Linked DNA regions of Homo sapiens: region 1 is linked to region 2. Evidence: promoter capture Hi-C in 16 types of primary human blood cells and fetal thymus (Javierre and others, 2016). All regions are on one chromosome and are shown on one strand. Each heading gives the region's core, a stretch centred on a gene start or on the middle of the fragment in contact. The rest is flanking DNA. Distances are from core to core; before and after follow the strand shown.

Region 1 (4,675 bases), core at 364-2,863, 78 kb after region 2:
CCCACTACGGCATTGAACTCCTGGGCTTGGGCAGTCTTGCCTCAGCCTTCTGAGTACCCAGTTGCTGGGACTACAGGCCTGTGCCACTATGCCTGGCTAATTTTATTGTAGAGATGGGGATCTCACTATGTTGCCCAGGCTGGTCTCAAAACTCCAAGCCTCAAGCAGTACTCCCACATCCCCTTCCCAAAGTGTTGAGATTACAGGCATATGCTACCATGCCCAGCCTACCATCTCTATTTTTTTTTTTTTTTTTTTTTTTGAAATGCAGTCTTGCTCTGTTGCCCAGGCTGGAGTGCAGTGGCATGATCTCAGCTCACCGTAACCTCCGCCTCCTGGGTTCAGGCGATTCTCCTGCCTCAGCCTCCCCAGTAGCTGGGACTACAGGCGCCCACCACCATGCCCAACTAATCTTTGTATTTTTAGTAGAGATGGGGTTTCACTGTGTTGGCCAGGCTGGTCTCAAACTCCTGACCTCGTGATCCGCCCCCTCGGCCTCCTAAAGTGCTAGGATTACAGGTGTGAGCCACCGCACCCAGCCCCATCTCTACATGTGATGTAAATATGAAATACAGGATTTTTAGGATTTGGTTAGAAAAAACATAAAATATATTAATTTTTATATTGATTACATGTGAATAATATTTTGGCTATGTTGGGTTTAAAAATATTAAAATTTTACCTCTTAAAGAACTTTTACAATATGGCTACTAGTAAATTTAAAAATTGCATGTATGGCTTGTATTATATTTCTACAAGGCAGTGCTGCTTTACAAAATCTTACCCTTATCAAGGACATTGTTTTTTAAATAATTTGTTCTCATTACAGCATATTCACATTTGTGGTATAAAAAATGGAAAATACAGAAAAGCATAATAATGTAATTAAAATCACCCATAATTCCACTGCTCAAGTTAAAGCATTAATATACTGTATATACCCTTCCAAGCTTTTTGGAGAGCATATAGATGCATGTGTTGTTTTTACAAAATTTTAATTATACTCTATATACTATAACTTTTTTGTTAAATTATCAGCATATTGTTAATATATTACAAATAGTTATCCTAAACATTGTTTGAGGGATTTGTAATTTTTTTTCTATGATTGTACCATAATTTATTTAACCCTCAACTGTTTGATATTTAGATTGTGTTTCTAATTTTACAGTATCAAAAGGTTGCAATAACCATTGTTGTAGGTATACTTTTGGACATAGTCATGAGTATTTTCCTGGAAGTATTGTTGCTGGGACACCATATTGCCAAATTGCTCTCTAGATATATTTATGGGCCTCTACAGTCGATTTCAGAAACAAAGGGCCAGCTCTAGACTTTTAGAATTTACAAACCAATAATCCTTTTTAAAAATATAAGGTCCAAGCATTTTGCTCTTGGGAGAGCAGCTCTAGGTCTTCTCTGAGAGTCTTTTTTCACTCTTTAAAAATTTGTGGTCGGGTGCGGTGGCCCACATCTATAATCCCAGCACTTTGGGAGGCCGAGGCAGGCAGATCACCTGAGGTCGGGAGTTCAAGACCAGCCTGACCAATATGGAGAAACCCTTCTCTACTAAAAATACAAAATTAGCCAGGTGTGGTGGTGCATGCCTGTAGTCCCAGCTACTTGGGAGGCTGAGATAGGAGAATTGCTTGAACCTGGGAGGCAGAGGTTGCAGGGTGAGCTGAGATTGTGCCGTTGCACTCCAGCCTGGGCAGCAAGAGTAAAACTCCATCTCAAAATAAATAAATAAATAAAAATTTGTATTATCGGCCAGGCACGGTGGCTCATGCCTATAATCCCAGCACTATGGGAGGCTGAGGCAGGTGGATCACTTGAGGTCAGGAGTTCGAGACCAGCCTGGGCAACATGGCAAAACCCCATCTCTACTAAAAATACAAAATGTAGTCAGGCGTGGTGGTGCCCGCCTGTGATGCCAGCTACTCAAGAGGCTGAGGTGGGGATCACCTGAGCCCAGTATGTCGAGGCTGCGGTGAGCCATGATTGCACCATTGCACTCCATCCGGGTGAGACTGAGACCCCGTCTCAAAAAAAAAAAAAAAGAAAGTGAAATAATTTGTGGACAACACAGAATTACAAACTTTTTATTTTGTCTTTTTAAAGTTACCACAAATTGTCACCACCATTCTCTGAAAGGACATTAACACCTGAATATATTTAGTTTCATGAAAATTTCACTTTTAACACTGCTTTTCTCATTTTACCATAGGCTGCTGAAAATTTTCACACAGACCAGCATAGGTTAGGGTAGAAGCTTGAGAATCACTGCTGTAATTTATTCTTTCATATCCAAACAGGTTAATCCAAAGGAATTGTTCTTGTATTTTTGGAAACATACTAGTACTAAATCATTCTCCTTGTTGGGAAATTTTCTGAGTTCTTGTTTCGTGCTGTTCTATGTGAATACCATAAGGAGAAACCATATGTTATTTTGTGAGCTACTATAGGAGTGTACATTGGGTCCCAATACTAGACCAGCCAGACTCAGGTAGGACGGAGTACAGAAATAAAAGCACAGGCTCTGGGACCAGGGAATCTGGATCCAATCTCTACTTTTGATTGCGTAGATGTGTTTTTAACCTAAGGCTTATTTTTCTCATCTATAAAATGGAAATAGTAATAGTCCATATCTCATAAATACTGGGAGGATTAAATGTGATGCATGTAAGATGCTGATCATAGTTACTGACCCTTAGAAAGTGTTCAATGGCTGGGCAAGGTGGCTCATGCCTGTAATCCCAGCTCTTTGGGAGGCCGAGGCAGGAGGATCACTTGAGCCCATGAGTTTGAAACCAGCCTGAGCAACACAGAACTCGTCTCTACAAAAAAATCTTAAAAATAGCTGAGTGTGGTGGTGCACACACCCTGTAGTCCTTGCTACTTAGGAGGCTGAGGTGGGAGGGTTGTTTGAACCCAGGAGGTCAAGGCTGCAGTGAGCCAGGATCACACCACTGAACTCCAGCCTGCTTGATACAGTGAGACCCTGTCTCTTAAAAAAATAAAAGGAAAAAAATAGTTTTCAGTAAATGTTAGCTGTGATTATAATATGATCATCAGTATATTTAGCCCTTCAAAAATATTCATTGACTGCTTGTGTGTCAAACACTAGGAAAGTTTAACACTTAAACAACTAGCTGTAATTGGTATATTAATATTGGAAGTATTAATAAAGTACACTGGGAACAGGTCTACACATCATACAGGAGGTTTTATACATTGCTGGAGTGCAATGGCACAATCTCAGCTCACCGCAACTTCTGCCTCCTGGGTTCAAGAGATTCTCCTGCCTCAGCCTCCTGAGTAGTTGGGATTACAGGCATGCGCCACCACGCCTGGCTAATTTTGTATTTTTTAATAGAGAAGGCTTTCTCCATGTTGGCCAGGCTGGTCTTGAACTCCCAACCTCAGGTAATCCACCCACCTCAGCTTCCCAAAGTGCTGGGATTACAGGCATGAGCCACTGTGCCCGGCCAGGAGGAGATCTTACATTTAAGGGGTCTTGAAGTTTGGAGAAGAAGGGGAGGATATTGCAACAAGGAAAATAACGGAAGCAAAGAAATGCCCATAAATTAGAATGAGCATGGTGTGTTTGTGGCCTGGATCACTGTAGACTAATACAGATAGAGCTATTAAGAGCAAGGACAGATGGGAGAAGACACAACATTTATGACTGCATAATCAGTATAATTATTGTATTTGGATATCACCAGCCCTTAACTTACGGAAGAAGACAAGAGCTGCAATTTAGGATTTAGGTAGAAGTCTGGAAAGATATGGGAGATGTAATGTTGACTTCTTGTCTTCTTTTCTCTTTTTTCTTTTACTTTCTTTTTTTTTTTTTTTTTTTTTTTTTTGCGAGGGTGTTGCCCAGGCTGGAGTACAGTGGCACAATCGTGGCTTACTGCTGCTGCCTCTAATTTCTGGACTCAAGTGATCCTCCCACCTCAGCCTCCCAAATAGCTGGTACTACAGGCATGCACCACTGTACTCAGCTAATTTTTGTTGTTGTTGTTGTTGTTGTTGTTGTTTTGGTTGAGACAGGGTTTCGCTGTGTTGTCCAGGCTGGTCTGGAACTCCTAGGCTCAAGTGATCCTCCCGCCTCAGTCTCCCAAGGTGTTGGGATTGCAGGTGTGAGCCACCATGCCCAGCCAATTCTAGCATTTTTTAAAAAACTGCTGAGATGATTTCTGGTGTCCTTGAGAATTCTTCAAATTATCTGAATATTAATTTCTAGCATTGATATTTAGAACAAGGTCCTTCTGACTTTTTTTAAGATATCTTTCAGGCTGGGTGCAGTGGCTTACCCCTGTAATCCCAGCACTTTGGGAGGCTGAGGCGGGTGGATCACCTGAGGTTGGGAGTTTGAGACCAGCCTGATCAACATGGAGAAATCCTGTCTCTACTAAAAATACAAAATTAGCCAGGCCTGGTAGCGCATGCCTGTAATCCCAGCTACGTGGGAGGCTGAGGCAGGAGAATTGGTTGAACCTGGGAGGCAGAAGTTGCAGTGAGCCGAGATTGTGCCATTGCACTCCAGCCTGGTCAACAAGAGCGAAACTCCATCTCAAAAATAAATAAATAAATCCTTTCATTGCCGTATCATCTAAAATAATGCCAATATTCTCACTGATTTTGGGGGACTGATGTTGGAAGATGA
Region 2 (4,866 bases), core at 1-2,500:
CTCCGCACACACTAATCTTTGGCTTGCTAAGCCCTGTTCAGATTAGGACAGGTCAAGCTAATTCTTCCCGGTCAAGCTCCCCCATGAAGACTTACTCTTCTGTTTACTGTCTCATTCTGAACTTTCTAAATTCTTCTTCCCCCTAGGTCCACTTTCCTCTTGTAATACTTACCAGATGATTGGGAACCACGGGGCCTGGCTCTCTCAGACTCCAGAATAGTCCCTCCTAACACCTGAAGCAGAGTTCTGACCACGAAGCTGCCATGTGTGTCTCCACAGTAGACAAGAAAATCATCACACACCTCAGCGGCTAGTCCCAGGACCAGCTCCTCCAGGGTCTCCGTGGGACCATCCTTTCCATCCTCCTCCTCCTCCTCCTCCTCCTCTGCAGCACTCCCCAGCAATCGAGGGAGCTGTAGCAAAGCACTTTGTAATACATGGACCCCGCATCGGTGACAGGCCACAGTGCGCAAGTTAGAGCGCAGAGCAGCCCACACGCGACAAAGCGGTTTCAAGGGACTGAATCCCAACAGTTCCTGCAGCATCTCACTGCCAGTCCTGTTCGTGGACAAAGCTAGGGCCTGAGTCTCTACTTCCTTCATTATATTGTGCACCATCAGATCTGAAAAGGGAAGAAAGACACACTTTGAAGAGACTTAGTAGAGAATACAGTTATGTACCCTCGCTTAACCAAGGGTCGTGGGTCGGAGGCCGAGGAAGAGGACATGGGAAATGAAACTAAGTCCCCACGCCCTGCCGACCCTAGAAAGTTTCCTTGCCTGCCCTGGATTTGATGCTCTTGGTCTAAACCCCGAAGTTGCTGCCTACCTCGTTCTTCCCCAGTCTCGGGAGCCTCTTTCAATGCTGACAGCGCCCGGCGGAAATATCCCAGAGCTTCCGGGCTCAGGTGCGGGTGCGAATCTGGAGCCGGCTCCGAGCGCCCATCCGGAGGCGGCCAGGGTTGCCGCTTACGGCCTGGTAAGGGGCGCCCCGACCCCTTGGCCCCGCGCCCCCGTTTGCCACCAGCTGGGAACCGGCGCCCCACCTTGTGTGGAGAGCGCGGACCCTGCCCCATGTGTGCTTCGCGACCTGTCCGGCTGCAAAAGCTTCCTTAACTGCGGACGGACCTTCGACGTCGCCAAGCGTGCGCCTTATCCAGACAAAGTTTAGAAACGCGGGCGCGCTCCTGACGCAGCTACTACGTCATAGTTCCGCGCCGCCCCAGCCGGGCGGGGTGGGTGTGTCACCCAGATCGCTCCGCCCCCATCCGCAGGTTCTAACTTTGGCCTGGGACTCTGCCCCTCTACCTCAGCACAGAATCGCCCCGGGTCCTACTACAGAATCAATCCTTGAACACTGCCTCCACGTCGCCGGCTCAATCTGGGCGAGAACCCAGACTTCCACCGCAGCCCCGCAATCTGCAGACCTCAGCGGCAGCGCAGGTGGCAGGTAAGCGGCGCACGCTCGTCCCACTTAGGGCTTAGGATCTCCAGGCTTCGCGCTCATCCCCGGCCCGGAAGCTGCGCCTCTGGCTCAGCCGGACTGGGTCAGGCCAGGGACCGGAGCTTCAGATAGCCCAGGACTCTGCGTGGACGCGCCCCGAGGGGCTGCCGCGCCAGATTCCCATATCCAGGCAGCCACACTCAGAGGGTTGTAGTAGTTGTCCACCTCTGGACAGTCCCACTCAGCCCCTTCTTCACTCTCTGGGCCTCCCAAAAGACAGTCAGCCTTGTCCTCAGGCCCGCACCCAGTTGTCAGCCTCTGACTCCTCTCCCCTCAAAGGATTCTTACCTTGGCTCCTCCTCTTAGCCCTAGTGAGGTTCTCCCCTACCCCCCAACCTCGCCCCAACACACACACAGTCTCCAGGCTTCCCTCAGAGTAAGTCTTTGCTTCCACAGACCTGCCTCCTTTGCCTGTGAGTCATGGCAGCTCCCATGAATGGCCAAGTGTGTGTGGTGACTGGTGCCTCCAGGGGTATTGGCCGTGGCATTGCCTTGCAGCTCTGCAAAGCAGGCGCCACAGTTTACATCACTGGCCGCCATCTGGACACCCTTCGCGTTGTTGCTCAGGAGGTGAGTGCTTCCTCTGGGACCACAGTTGCAGAAACCACCCGAGAGAGCCCTTCCACTTAACAGCTCCTTTCCTAATCCCTTACCTGAAACTATAATACTACTCAACAAGATGTGAATATTTATTCAAAGTGGAAATTAAAAACCCCGTAAATAACTTCAGGTAAGGTAGAATTTTGCCGCCAAGTGAGTTTTATGAAAAAACTTTGTGTTTGAGCCAGGCATGGTGGCACGTTCCTGCAGTCCCAGCAGCTACTCCGGAGGCTGAGGCAGGAGGATCGCTTGAGCCTAGGAGTTGAGCCATGATCACACCACTGCACTCCAGTCTAGACGACACAGCGAGACACTGTATTAAAAAAAAGAAAAGAAAGAAAAGTAAAAAACTTTTTGTTTGAGAGCAGAGATTTTGGAATTGCAACTAAAGGGTTGTGGACCTGTGCTTTCCTCTATTTCAGGCAAGACTTTATTGAACTGCACATTTTTTACTTATTTACTAGACTTCAGTTAAATAAATATTTGAGTATCCATGATTTGCTAGGCATTGGTAAACCACTGAAGTTACCAAGACTAATAAAATCTAATTTCTGCTCTTCAAAGATTCAGTCCATGGTGGAGTACAGTGGCTCATGCCTGTAGTCCCAGCACTTTGGGTGGCCAAGGCAGCAAGATCACTTGAGGCCAGCAGTTGGAGACCAGTCTGGGCAACATAGCTAGACCCAGTCTCTACAAAAAATATTTTTTAAATAATTAGCTAGGCACAGTGGCCTGCACCTGTAGTACCATCTACTTGGGAGGCTGAGGCAGGAGGATCGTTTGAGCCCAGGAGTTCGAGGTTGCAGTGAGCTATGATTGCACCACTGCACTCCAGCCTGGTGACAGTGAGACCCTGTCTCTAAAAAAAAAAATTTTAATTAAAAATGAAGATAGATTCCAACAGGAAGTCAGGTACAGAAAGCAGTCACTTCAATGTAATGTGAATATGGTAAATTATAAGAGGGAGATATGCACAGAATACTCTAGGGGTGTTGGGGAGCATCCAGATGACATAGGAGAGTGGCTAGGGAAAGTGGTTTGGGAAAGCGTCCTGGAGGAGGTAGGTGGTTCTTGAACTGAGTTTTGAAAGGTAAGAATTAGGTAAAGGAAGTTAGGAAAAGCATTCCAGCAGAGGGAGCTCCATAAGCATAGGGACGCTGTGTGAAAGAGTAGATGTGTGAGATAATGCAAGGGAAGAGTAGTGAGTGAGAGGCTGGAGAGGAAAGAGTGGGTCTTGGAAGACCCTAATAGAGAACTCAGGCTTCATCCTCTAAGAGATGGAGATCCAGTTAGGAGATTTTGAACAGGGTTTGTGTTTTAGATAGGTCGTACTGGCTGGATTATGAAGAATTAATTTAAGGCAGACAGACTGGAGGTCAGGTGAGTCGTTGGGAGGCATTGCAGTAGTTCAGGCAAGGAGGGTAATAGGCGGGGACCCAGAGCATAAATTTGGAGAATAGGAGGATTGTTCTTAGATAAAGGACTCTTCTTCCTCTGAAGTTGGAGGTTTGTGGGCATTTGTAGAGAGTGAGACAGAACAGGAAGTAGAAATCATTCATGGCTGATAGCTTTGGTTTTTTCAATTACCAACCAGGAGCATTGGTGGAGTGAGGGTAAGACAACTGGGACTGAGTAGAGGTTTTAGGTGAGTAGTGTAGGGTGGGAGCTAAGGGCATGAGAGATGGAAATGACCACAACAAGGAAAAGGATGCTTACTCATTTCTCAAGAGCAGACTCCATGCCTCACTTGTTCTTACCCTCTACTTGCAAAGTACAATGCTGTGCACATGGTGGGCCTCAGTAAATGTTTGTAGATTATTAAAACTTACATTGCAATTCACCTTGCTCTGTGGTGGGGAGGCCTATCATTCCTGAAACTACTCAAACAGACACCAGAGGGCAGCGTTGCCTGCCATGTTGCCTCTGCAGCAGGCTCTCCTAGGATTGATTGTCTTCTCAGTTCTCAAGCCCACTTTGGTTGGGGAGTTTTGTCATGACTCACACCCATGTGTGAATGTGAGCTCATATCCCCTGTCCTACTCCAGGCACAATCCCTCGGGGGCCAATGTGTGCCTGTGGTGTGCGATTCAAGCCAGGAGAGTGAAGTGCGAAGCCTGTTTGAGCAAGTGGATCGGGAACAGCAAGGGCGTCTAGATGTGCTGGTCAACAATGCTTATGCAGGGGTCCAGGTACCCTTTGAACTTTGTTCCCAACTCCACATTTCTGACCTCCCCCTCAGACCCCTGCATCTTCATCCCCACTCATTGTCCCTTCCATTACCCAGCCCCTCACACCTCCCTACCTTCAGATCATTCATCACCCTCCCTGTGCCTTCCAGACGATCCTGAACACCAGGAATAAGGCATTCTGGGAAACCCCTGCCTCCATGTGGGATGATATCAACAACGTCGGACTCAGGTGGGTGCTCCACTGCCAGGACCCATGTTCCCTCACTCACTTAGCCAACTCGACGGCCAGGCCTTTCCTTACATGCCCTCTCCTTTTCCCTCCGGCCTCCCCCATCTCTTTCTTCTCCCTTCCATTCCATTTGTCCCACTTACCTCTGGAGAAGTTCCATCCAGGTGAGTCTGTACCTGAGAATGTCAACTCTGTCAGTAATTTTCATTGGAACAAGCCCTTGGCCTCTCTCCTGTCTCACTCTCTGCCCATCCAAATGCAAGACCCAGAAGGGAGGAAGCCTCCTCCTCTCAGTAATGCGCACAGCCTGTAGTCTATACTTTCAAAATGGTTAGAGGGAGAAAT

The links. The method cuts DNA at HindIII sites, captures the fragments that hold promoters and counts their contacts. A CHiCAGO score of 5 or more calls a contact.
Region 1: a contact is called between a fragment that was not itself captured here and the fragment with the promoter of DHRS1 in region 2, in 17 of 17 cell types (naive CD8 T cells, total B cells, total CD8 T cells and 14 more). The highest score is 22.8, in naive CD8 T cells.

What each region holds. Positions count from the first base shown.
Region 1 is chr14:24,218,673-24,223,347 of GRCh38, reverse strand. The region is part of intron 1 of NEDD8-MDP1 (NEDD8-MDP1 readthrough); the gene reads left to right. All of the region lies in intron 1 of NEDD8 (NEDD8 ubiquitin like modifier), which reads left to right. Among named protein-coding and RNA genes, the nearest start is that of MDP1, 4.9 kb to the right of the region's middle. The HindIII fragment of the contact is 1,322 bases long and covers 953-2,274 here.
Region 2 is chr14:24,296,164-24,301,029 of GRCh38, reverse strand. DHRS1 (dehydrogenase/reductase 1) reads left to right here and starts at 1,250. Exons shown (of 9, transcript NM_001136050.3): 1 at 1,250-1,449; 2 at 1,900-2,073; 3 at 4,149-4,292; 4 at 4,442-4,521. The coding sequence starts at 1,924. NOP9 (NOP9 nucleolar protein) reads right to left here and starts at 1,180. Exons shown (of 10, transcript NM_174913.3): 1 at 829-1,180; 2 at 173-622. The coding sequence starts at 1,075. RefSeq lists an enhancer at 1,906-2,696. The HindIII fragment of the contact is 3,784 bases long and covers 1,109-4,866 here.